3 separate regions of the Homo sapiens genome follow, and all the other regions are linked to region 2. Evidence: promoter capture Hi-C in 16 types of primary human blood cells and fetal thymus (Javierre and others, 2016). All regions are on one chromosome and are shown on one strand. Each heading gives the region's core, a stretch centred on a gene start or on the middle of the fragment in contact. The rest is flanking DNA. Distances are from core to core; before and after follow the strand shown. Region 1 holds the start of CNN2 (calponin 2). Region 2 holds the start of MIDN (midnolin). Region 3 holds the start of POLR2E (RNA polymerase II, I and III subunit E).

Region 1 (2,700 bases), core at 159-2,658, 220 kb before region 2:
TAAAATAAAATAAAATAAAATAAAATAAAATAAAATGTGTCAAACTCCTATTGATGCTTCAAAACCCCATCTCCCTTGCCTCCTCTTACATGCAGCTTTCCTTGATTCCTCCGACAGAGCCCCAACTCTCCCTCCAGTTCCTCCAGCCCCAAGCCTCTCATTCTGTCCTGTACTTGCTCATATAGGGAAACAGGGTGGGCGGGGTGGGGGGGTTCCGCCTGTGCTGGCTCATACAGGGAATCCGGGTTGGGGGTTGGTCTGTGCCAGCTCTGTCTTCCTGGGCATGGGCTGGGCCAGAGCTAAGGTCTCCTGAGAGCCAGCACTGCCTGGCAGGAGACTGTCCCGGAGACTTTTTAATAATTTATTATTATTAGGGTTTTTTTGTGTTTTTTTTTTTTGTTTTTTTTTTTAAGACGGAGTCTTGCTCTGTCGCCCAGGCTGGAGTGCAGTGGCGCGATCTCGACTTACTACAACCTCCGCCTCCTGGCTTCAAGTGATCCTCCCACCTCAGCCTCCTCAGTAGCTGGAATTACAGGCATGTGCCCCCATGCCCGGCTAATTTTTGTATTTTTAGTAGAGACGGAGTTTCGCCATGTTAGCCAAGCTGGTCTGGAACTCCTGACCTCAAGTGATCCGCCCGCCTCGGCCTTCCAAAGTGCTGGGATTGCAGGCGTGAGCCACTCGGATTTTTATTTTTATTTATTTATTTATTTTTAGAGAGAGGCTCTTGCTCTGCTGCCCAGGCTGGAGCGTCATGTTGTGATGATAACTCACTGCAGCTTCGACCTCTTGGGCTCAACGGATCCTCCCCCTTCGGCCTCAGCCTCCCAAGTAGCTAGAACTCCAGGTGCAAGCTACCGCACCCAGTAAGAATCCTATTCTCTTTTGGACTGACAAACTCCTACTCATCCAACAAAGCCCCAGCTCCAATGGCCCCTTCTCTGAGGAACCTGCCCTGGTTCCCTGGTCCACCTCCCAGCTAGTAGAGTTCCCTGGGAAGGGGTTAGACGCCTCTAAGTGGCAGAGAGGGGCCCTCATTCCTGCCCCAAAGGTAGCCTTCTCCCCTCCCCTTTCTGGCAGAAGAGAAGTCTGAGATGGAGAAAGAGTGAGAGCCGCCCACGAGCTCTGAGCAGAGAGCCCGCAGGAGTGCCACGTCCCGGCGGCCTCGGCCCCTCCCTGCCTCAGTTTCCCGTGGCATCAAAGGGGGCGAGGGGCCCCTCCAGGCCTCTGGTGACGGGGGTGCTGTGCCCAGGCGGGGGTCCGGGGGCGACCGAGGGGGCTCAGGAAGTCCGCGGCCGCAGGAATTCGGCGCCTCCAGGCCTTATAAGGACATTTGCGCTCCGGGCCAATCAGCGGCGGGGGCGTGGCGCGCGGAGCCCGGCGCGTCCCAACCCCGCGCCAGCCCGGCGGTCCCGTCCCGTCCCGTCCTGTGCGGCCCCGTCCCGCCGCCCGCCCGCCAGCCATGAGCTCCACGCAGTTCAACAAGGGCCCCTCGTACGGGCTGTCGGCCGAGGTCAAGAACCGGGTGAGTGAGGGGCGCCCCTTGTCCCCCCGACAGCGCGGCCGTCGCACGCTCCGACCGGTGCAGGAGCCCCCAGGCGCCCCCGGCACCTCCCGGGCAGGGAGCTTGGAGACCCGGGGCGGACGGGCCCTTGTTCTCCCTGACGCCTGGTGGGGGGATGTCTGCGGGCACCCCCTGAGGCTCCCGCGAATCTTGGGGAGCACCCAGGTCTGAGATCTGGGGGACGAGTGACCCATTCCCCCCCCCAACATCTAGGGGTAGTTGGGTCTGACTTCGTCCCCTCGCCATGGCCCCAGGACCCCCACGTGTGAAGCCCCTGGCGCCCACTCAACCTTCGAGAAGGTCCGTTCAAGGTCCGACAACGCTCTGGGGGTCTGGGGGGGACCCCAGCAACCCCGTCATCTCCTGGCCACACTTCTGCTTTTGGGGCCTCTTAGCTTTGGGAGGGGAAGGGGCATGGCCGAGTGGTTTTTGAGAAGTGTTACCCCCCCACAAACAGGAATTTCCTGGCCTCTGGGACACCTTGGGGGTGTCTTGGGGGGAGGGGCGGTAGCCGCTTTGCACGGTCTTTGTCTCCCATCTGACTAATTTAAACGGATAACAAAGAGGTTCTCTGAAGGTGGCCCTGAGATATGTGGGGTTTTGCAGCCTCGAAAGAAGAGCTGGGGCCCGGCAGGGCGCGGGGGCTCACGCCCGTAATCCCAGCACTTTGGGGGGCGGAGCTGGGTGGATGGCTTGAGCCCAGCGAGTTCGAGACCAGTCTGGGCAACATGGCGAAACCCCATCTCTATAATTAAAAACAAGCCAGGGCTAGGGGAGACACTTTTTAAGAGAGCACTTGTGGTTCTAGCTCAGAGAGGACCAGACACTTCTGCAGGGTCACACAGCAGGGTCCTGGACAGGATTCCCAGGGAAAGTGGGGGGCGGGGGTTGTGATGCGAGACCCACGGACAGGACCGGGACCTGACCCTCCAGGACCTTCCAGCTGGAGGGGGGTGTCGTCCCCGCCCACCCCCTCCCCCGACGCCCACTGGGCACCTGGGAAGGTGTCCTTACAGCTGACTTCTGCAGGGGAAACTGCCTCTGCACGCTCTGAGGGCACCGGCCCTGCCAGCCCCAACAGCCACCTGCCCGGCGGCACTCCAGGGCCGGCAGACTGGAGGGAGAATTCCTGCTTC
Region 2 (2,779 bases), core at 110-2,609:
TCCCGCGTTCAAGCGATTCTCCTGCCTCAGCCTCCTGAGTAGCTGGGACTACAGACACATGCCACCATGCCCAGCTAATTTTTGTATTTTTAGTAGAGACAGGGTTTCACCATGTTGGCCAGGCTGGTCTCAATCTCTTGACCTTGTGATCCGCCCGCCTCGGCCTCCCAAAGTGCTGGGATTACAGGCGTGAGCCACCGCGCCCGACCGCATCATCTTTTTTATGTGACAAACTCCTAGTCATTCCTCAAACCGCAGCCCCTGTGACCCCCTTCCAAGGGTTATCCCAGCCTCTCCCTCTCTGGCCTAGCCCTGACCCTTCGGGGCTGGGTGTGCCTGTCAAGGTGGGGGCCACGGCTGCCGGGAGCATGGGTGGCAGCCGGAAGGAGACCTGGGGAGGAGCGCAGCCCTGGGAGGGGCGCCCATGGCCAGGGTGGGGGTGGAGGTGGTCAGGCCAGATAAAGGGAGGGGCCAGATGAGTGGACAGGAGGTGCTCCCGTAGGAATGGGGTCCCCTTCTCTAAATAGAGGGGCAGGACGGGGCCCACCTCAACCAGGACCATCCTCAAAAAGCCGACGGGGAAGGGTGAGATGCACACCACATTCGTGTCTCATTGGCTGTGGCCTCAGTTTCTTCATCTGTAAAATGGGGTAATGCCCACCCCAAAGGCTGGGAACCAGTGCATGTCCTGCATTAATGGGGGGTGATGGCCCCAAAGTGATCCTGCCGCATCCCCTCACCACACTCCCACCCACCCTGGAGAAACTGAGGCTTGGAGAGGCCAGTTACCTCCCGGGGTCACAGCATAGCCGGCTGGTGACTGGCTGGGCACAAGGCAGGCCTGGCACTGGCTAATCGCTCCATAAATGCCCTCTGAGGTCACCATTGACAGATGCAGGAGGCCAGGGCTGGCCAGGGCACCCCCACTCTACGGCAGGTGACTCCAGCCTGTTTTCCTGGACGACAGCCGCTGACTCAGGCCCCTCTTCCCGTCCCCCCCACGCGGGCGCCCCCAGGCGGAAGCACCGGGCCTGGGGCGACAGGAAGGGGGCGGGGCAGCGAGTCGCGCTGTACACCCCAAAACCCTGTCCCGCTGACGATTCGGGGTGCATCTCAGCCCGCGGCGAGGCGGGCCGAGACCCTTGGCTCGGGGCATTCAAGGGGAGTCCCCCCATGAACTGCGCCAAGCCTGGGTCCCGGGTGGCCCAGCCGTCAAGGCGCCCCAGGGCCAGGGCCGGCAGGCAGGGGCGGGGGCCAGTCTGCGTCACCGCCCGCCCGGCCCCCCGCCCCCCTGCCCGCCCTAACTCCACCCCGAGGGAAGGCGGCGCGGATAAAGGCTGAGGGCCGCGCGCTTGGCCCAGACCGGCCCGGCCAGCGCGCATTCGGCCCCGGACGAAGGTACTCGCAGCACTTGGAGCGCAGAACCGGCCGCGCCCGGTGAGTGTGGAGGGGGGGGACCTGCGGGCCGAGGAAGGGTGCCCACTCTAGATGGCTCAGGATGCCCGCACTTTTCTTTGTTCTTGGGACAGGAGGGATCGGGGAGCCTCCGGTCCTGGGAAGCCCCCCGGGGTGCGGGGTGGGAGGGGCTCCGCGCAGCCAGCGCCGCCCTGGCCGGACCTCAGCCCCCGCCCCGCCCCCCGGGGCACTCCCCCTTCACCGCGGGTGACCTTGAACTGGTTGCCGTTCCGCCCTCCGTTGCCCAGCCACACGGTCCCAGTCTCCCGACTACAGTCTTTCGTTCCCGATCGGGGTTCCTCCCCCGCGCGCAGCCCAGTCGTCTTCCTCCCCTGCCAGGGGCAGCGCGGCGCCCCCTCCCCGGGACTCCGGGCGGCGCTCCCAGGCGGGCCCGGCAGAGGGCGCGCCCGAGCTGCTGACTCACCGCATCCCCGAGCGCGCGCGGGCGCAGCCGGGGACGCCGCGTCACGTCACGGCTCGAGCGGGCGCGCCTCGGGGAAACGGGTTCTGCCCGCGGCCGGCGGGTGGGCGCGCGGGGCCCCCGGCGGCAGCCACCCGGCCACGTCACCGAGGTGCGGGCGCCCCGCCCCGGCCACAACTCCGCCCCCACGCACCACGCCCTCCCCGGGGCCGCGGCCCTAGCCTCACCGTCGCCCGCCCGCCCCGGGACCCCGGCCACGAGGCGCGGACTTCGCGCTCCCGCTTCCGCTCGCGGCTTTTCCCGGACGAAGGCGGCGGGGTGGCCCCACGACTTCCTGCCCCTCCCGGCGCCGGGAACAATGGCCCGCGCCCCCTCCCGCTCCCGGCCGCTCCCTTGGGATCGCGAGGGGTACCAGACCCGTCTCCAGACCTGGGTCCCGCGCCCCCCGGGGCGCGCCCGCCCTTTGTTGCGGGCTCCGGGCGCTTATGAATGGCTGCGGGCGCGGGCGGGGCGGGGGCGGGCGCGGAGAGGCGCCAGCCCCGCCCCCGCTGCGCTCCCCTTGGTCGCCTGGGCGCTGGGGGCGGGGCGAGGGGGCGGGCCCGGCTGCCACGTGGGGCGGTGCCGCGGCGGCTCTCATAGGCCCGGGCTCGCGGCCGACTGGGCGCTCGGCGCGCGGCGATTGGCCGGCGCCCGGCCGGCGGAGTAAGTAGTGAATGGGAGGGGGCGGCGGCCCCGCCCCCTGGAACGTTGATACATTATAACTTTTTTTTCTTGTTACTTTCACCCCCAGATCCTCCGAGCGGCGGCGACGGCTGTTGCTAAGGGAGGGGACGCGCGAGGAAGCGCGACCCGGGCGGCAGACGGCACCCAGCGCCACCAGCCGAGCGGCGCCCCCTCCCCAGG
Region 3 (2,845 bases), core at 1-2,500, 150 kb before region 2:
CGGCCAAAGCTCGTGACCCGGAAGTCAGACCTGCGGCTGCTGCAGAGGACAGAGGTGAACAGCAAACGGGATGAACACTCACTGTGTGCTCCATGACAGCCACCCCGGCCCCCACAGCCTCACACCACAGGATGGGACCAGTATGATCCTGAGAGGCTCCCAGAGATGTCCAGCCTTGACCAAGACCGTCTGTCCACCCAGCCTCACAGAAACCTGGCAGGGAGCAAAGCCCTCCAAACCACTTTGCAGAGCTACCCTAAAGGCAGGGACAAAGGCGGGGCGCGGAGGCTCACGCCCGTGATCCCAGTACTTAGGGAGGCTGAGGCAGGAGGGTTGCTGGAGGCCAGTTCAAGGATGCAGTGAGCTATGATTGCACCACTGCACTGCAGCCTGGGCGACAGAATGAAACCCTATCTCTTAAAAAAAAAAAATGACAGGGACCGAAACAGATGTGACTTCAGGCTGACAATGTTTGAGGATCGGAGAAAGAAGAATCAGGCTGCGGGGGGCTTCGCTGAGGACAAGGGCAAAGGGTGGGAAGCAAGACAAAGCAAAAGCTCTCAAACGGCCCCAATGGCTGAGGCAATACCCTGAACCGCAGGTCCTCAGGCCTGTGCCCGGCTTCCAAACCGGACTCGACCCAGTGGCCTCCATCTGCCCCAGACCCCAAGGCACGGGTTCCGAGCTCCACGTCCCCATCGAAAGCCCCAGCTCGCCCGCTGCTTCCCAACCACCAACTCTGCCAGCCTCGGATGCTGAAGACTCCATGGGGTTCAGGACGCAAGGACAAATAGCGACGCTGAATCACAGAGAAGGGCAGAGTCTGGGGGCGCCCCCCGTCCCCATTCGCGGCTTCCTCCTCCTCTCGCCGCCACGCGCGCCGCACCAGCCCAAGCCGCCCACCCACCCCTAAGCACCGCACCCAGACGTCTCGAAACCCCCTCCCTTCCCCGCTGCCGGCTCAGGTCGGGTCCAGCGCCTGGTATCCCCGGCGACCTCTGGGCCTCCCGTATCGGCCCGGCCCTTCATCGCTGCTGCTCCGACGAGAGTACGAGGAGACGCCGTGCTCGACCCCACCTCGGGCCCCTACACCCGCCGCCCGCGCCCCCGCCCCCAACACCAGGCGCGGCTCACCTGCATGATGGTCTTGCGGATTTTCCAGAGCCGGTACGTCTCCTCCTCGTCGTCCATGGCAGCCTCCGCCGCCGCCGCCGCTCGCACCCCTTCTCCGCGCGAGAACCCGCGCGGACTGCGCCTGCGCCGAATCCGAATCAGGCCCCCTCCGCCTAACCCCGCCCCGCGCTGGTCTGTCGTCGGCGAATGCCTGAATGCAGCAACGTCTCGGATCGGCAGCGCCAAGGGCAGCCCGAGCCTTACGAGAGCGGCAGTTGGCTGAGCGAGTCTCTCGCCTCCGTAGTTCTCGTGTGTCTTTGGCCGCACAGCCTCTCGGGAGTTGTAGTTTCCGTTCAACTCCCACCTTGGAGCAACAGTTTAGAATCCCACGAGGCGGGGGCGAAGTGTGAGCGGGGAAACTGAGGCCTGGATGGGGTCAAGGGGCAGCTCGGCTCCTAGGGATGGTCTGGGAGCCTAGTGGGAACTCTATAAATATTTGTGCATCAAACTGTACAGGGTTTCCTCCATTGGCTCCTGGCCAGGTCAGGGTTAATTCCCTTGGGCCTCAGTTTCCCTACCTGTGCAATGGCAATAAAGTGTCCCTACTTTAGACGGTTAACTGAGAGTCTTAGGCATCTCTCTAGGTGCTTATTAAGTCCCCTCACCTCTGTCCTCTCCCCTGAGCGCCACCAGCCTAGCCTGGGTATCTCCCCAGCCTAGCCTGGGTATCTCCCCACCCCAGACTCTTCCTGTCTTTGCAAACCTCCTCACTTCCCCAGGTTCACGGAGAACCCCAGCCCAACACTTCCTGTGTGCAGGCTATCAGTAACTTATTCAGTGATGCATTCGTTAATTCAACATTTACTCAGCAACCTACAGTGATGGTGAATAAAACAGGCCAAGTATCCCTTGCATTCAGATAAAGACAGGATTTAGTAAAATATAATAAATAACGTGGCCGGGCGCGGTGGCTCATGCCTATAATCCCAGCACTTTGGGAGGCTGAGGCGGGCAGAGCATGAGATCAGGAGTTCAAGACCATCCTGGCTAACACGGTGAAACCCCGTCTCTACTAAAAATACAAAAAATTAGCTGGGCCAGGTGGCAGGTGCCTGTAGTCTCAGCTACTTAGGAGGCTAAGGCAGGAGAATCTCGTGAACCTGTAAGGTGGAGGTTTCAGTGAGCCAAGATCGTGCCACTGCACTCCAGCCTGGACAACAGAGCAAGACTCTGTCTCAAAAATAAAATGAAATGAAATAAAATAAAATAAATAACAACGTTAGAAAGTGACAAAGCTACGGAAGAAGAAAGAGCAGGGAGGCTAAGTGACATGGGGAGAATGGGAGAACTGCAGTATCACATGGGGAGGTCAGGGAATACAGTGAGGATAGATTCAAGCAAAAATCCCATTAGCAGTGGTGGCTCATCACTGTAATCCCAGCACTTTGGGTGGCCGAGGCAGGCAGAGCATGAGATCAGGAGTTCCAGACCAGCTTGGCCAACATGGTGAAACCCTGTCTCTACTAAAAATACAAAAATTAGCCAGGTTTGGTGGTGGGTGCCTGTACTCCCAGTTACTCGGGAGGCTGAGGCAGGAGAATCACTTGAACCCGGGAGGCGGAGGTTGCAGTGAGCCGAGATCGCACCACTGCACTCCAGCCTGGGTGACAGAGCAAGACTCCATCGAGAAAAAAAAAAAAAAATCCCATTGGGCGCGATAGCTCACACCTGT

Evidence for each region. The method cuts DNA at HindIII sites, captures the fragments that hold promoters and counts their contacts. A CHiCAGO score of 5 or more calls a contact.
Region 1: the fragment with the promoter of CNN2 here is called in contact with the fragment with the promoter of MIDN in region 2 in 17 of 17 cell types (monocytes, M0 macrophages, neutrophils and 14 more); the score reaches 35.5 in monocytes.
Region 3: a contact is called between the fragment with the promoter of POLR2E here and the fragment with the promoter of MIDN in region 2, in 15 of 17 cell types (monocytes, neutrophils, naive CD4 T cells and 12 more). The highest score is 15.7, in monocytes.

What each region holds. Positions count from the first base shown.
Region 1 is chr19:1,025,200-1,027,899 of GRCh38, forward strand. It overlaps CNN2 (calponin 2), which reads left to right and starts at 1,409. Exons shown (of 7, transcript NM_004368.4): 1 at 1,409-1,525. The coding sequence starts at 1,463. RefSeq lists an enhancer at 335-1,066 and a silencer at 1,057-1,696. The HindIII fragment of the contact is 13,555 bases long and covers 1-2,700 here.
Region 2 is chr19:1,247,224-1,250,002 of GRCh38, forward strand. It overlaps MIDN (midnolin), which reads left to right and starts at 1,360. Exons shown (of 9, transcript NM_001388306.1): 1 at 1,360-1,437; 2 at 2,667-2,779. It overlaps LOC102723811 (a long non-coding RNA gene), which reads right to left and starts at 849. Exons shown (of 2, transcript XR_007067082.1): 1 at 790-849; 2 at 1-638. RefSeq lists silencers at 814-1,353, 1,444-1,903, 1,964-2,083, 2,114-2,583, 2,764-2,779 and an enhancer at 1,437-1,970. The HindIII fragment of the contact is 31,339 bases long and covers 1-2,779 here.
Region 3 is chr19:1,094,125-1,096,969 of GRCh38, forward strand. It overlaps POLR2E (RNA polymerase II, I and III subunit E), which reads right to left and starts at 1,251. Exons shown (of 8, transcript NM_002695.5): 1 at 1,135-1,251. The coding sequence starts at 1,191. RefSeq lists enhancers at 1-437, 1,195-1,284. The HindIII fragment of the contact is 25,451 bases long and covers 1-2,845 here.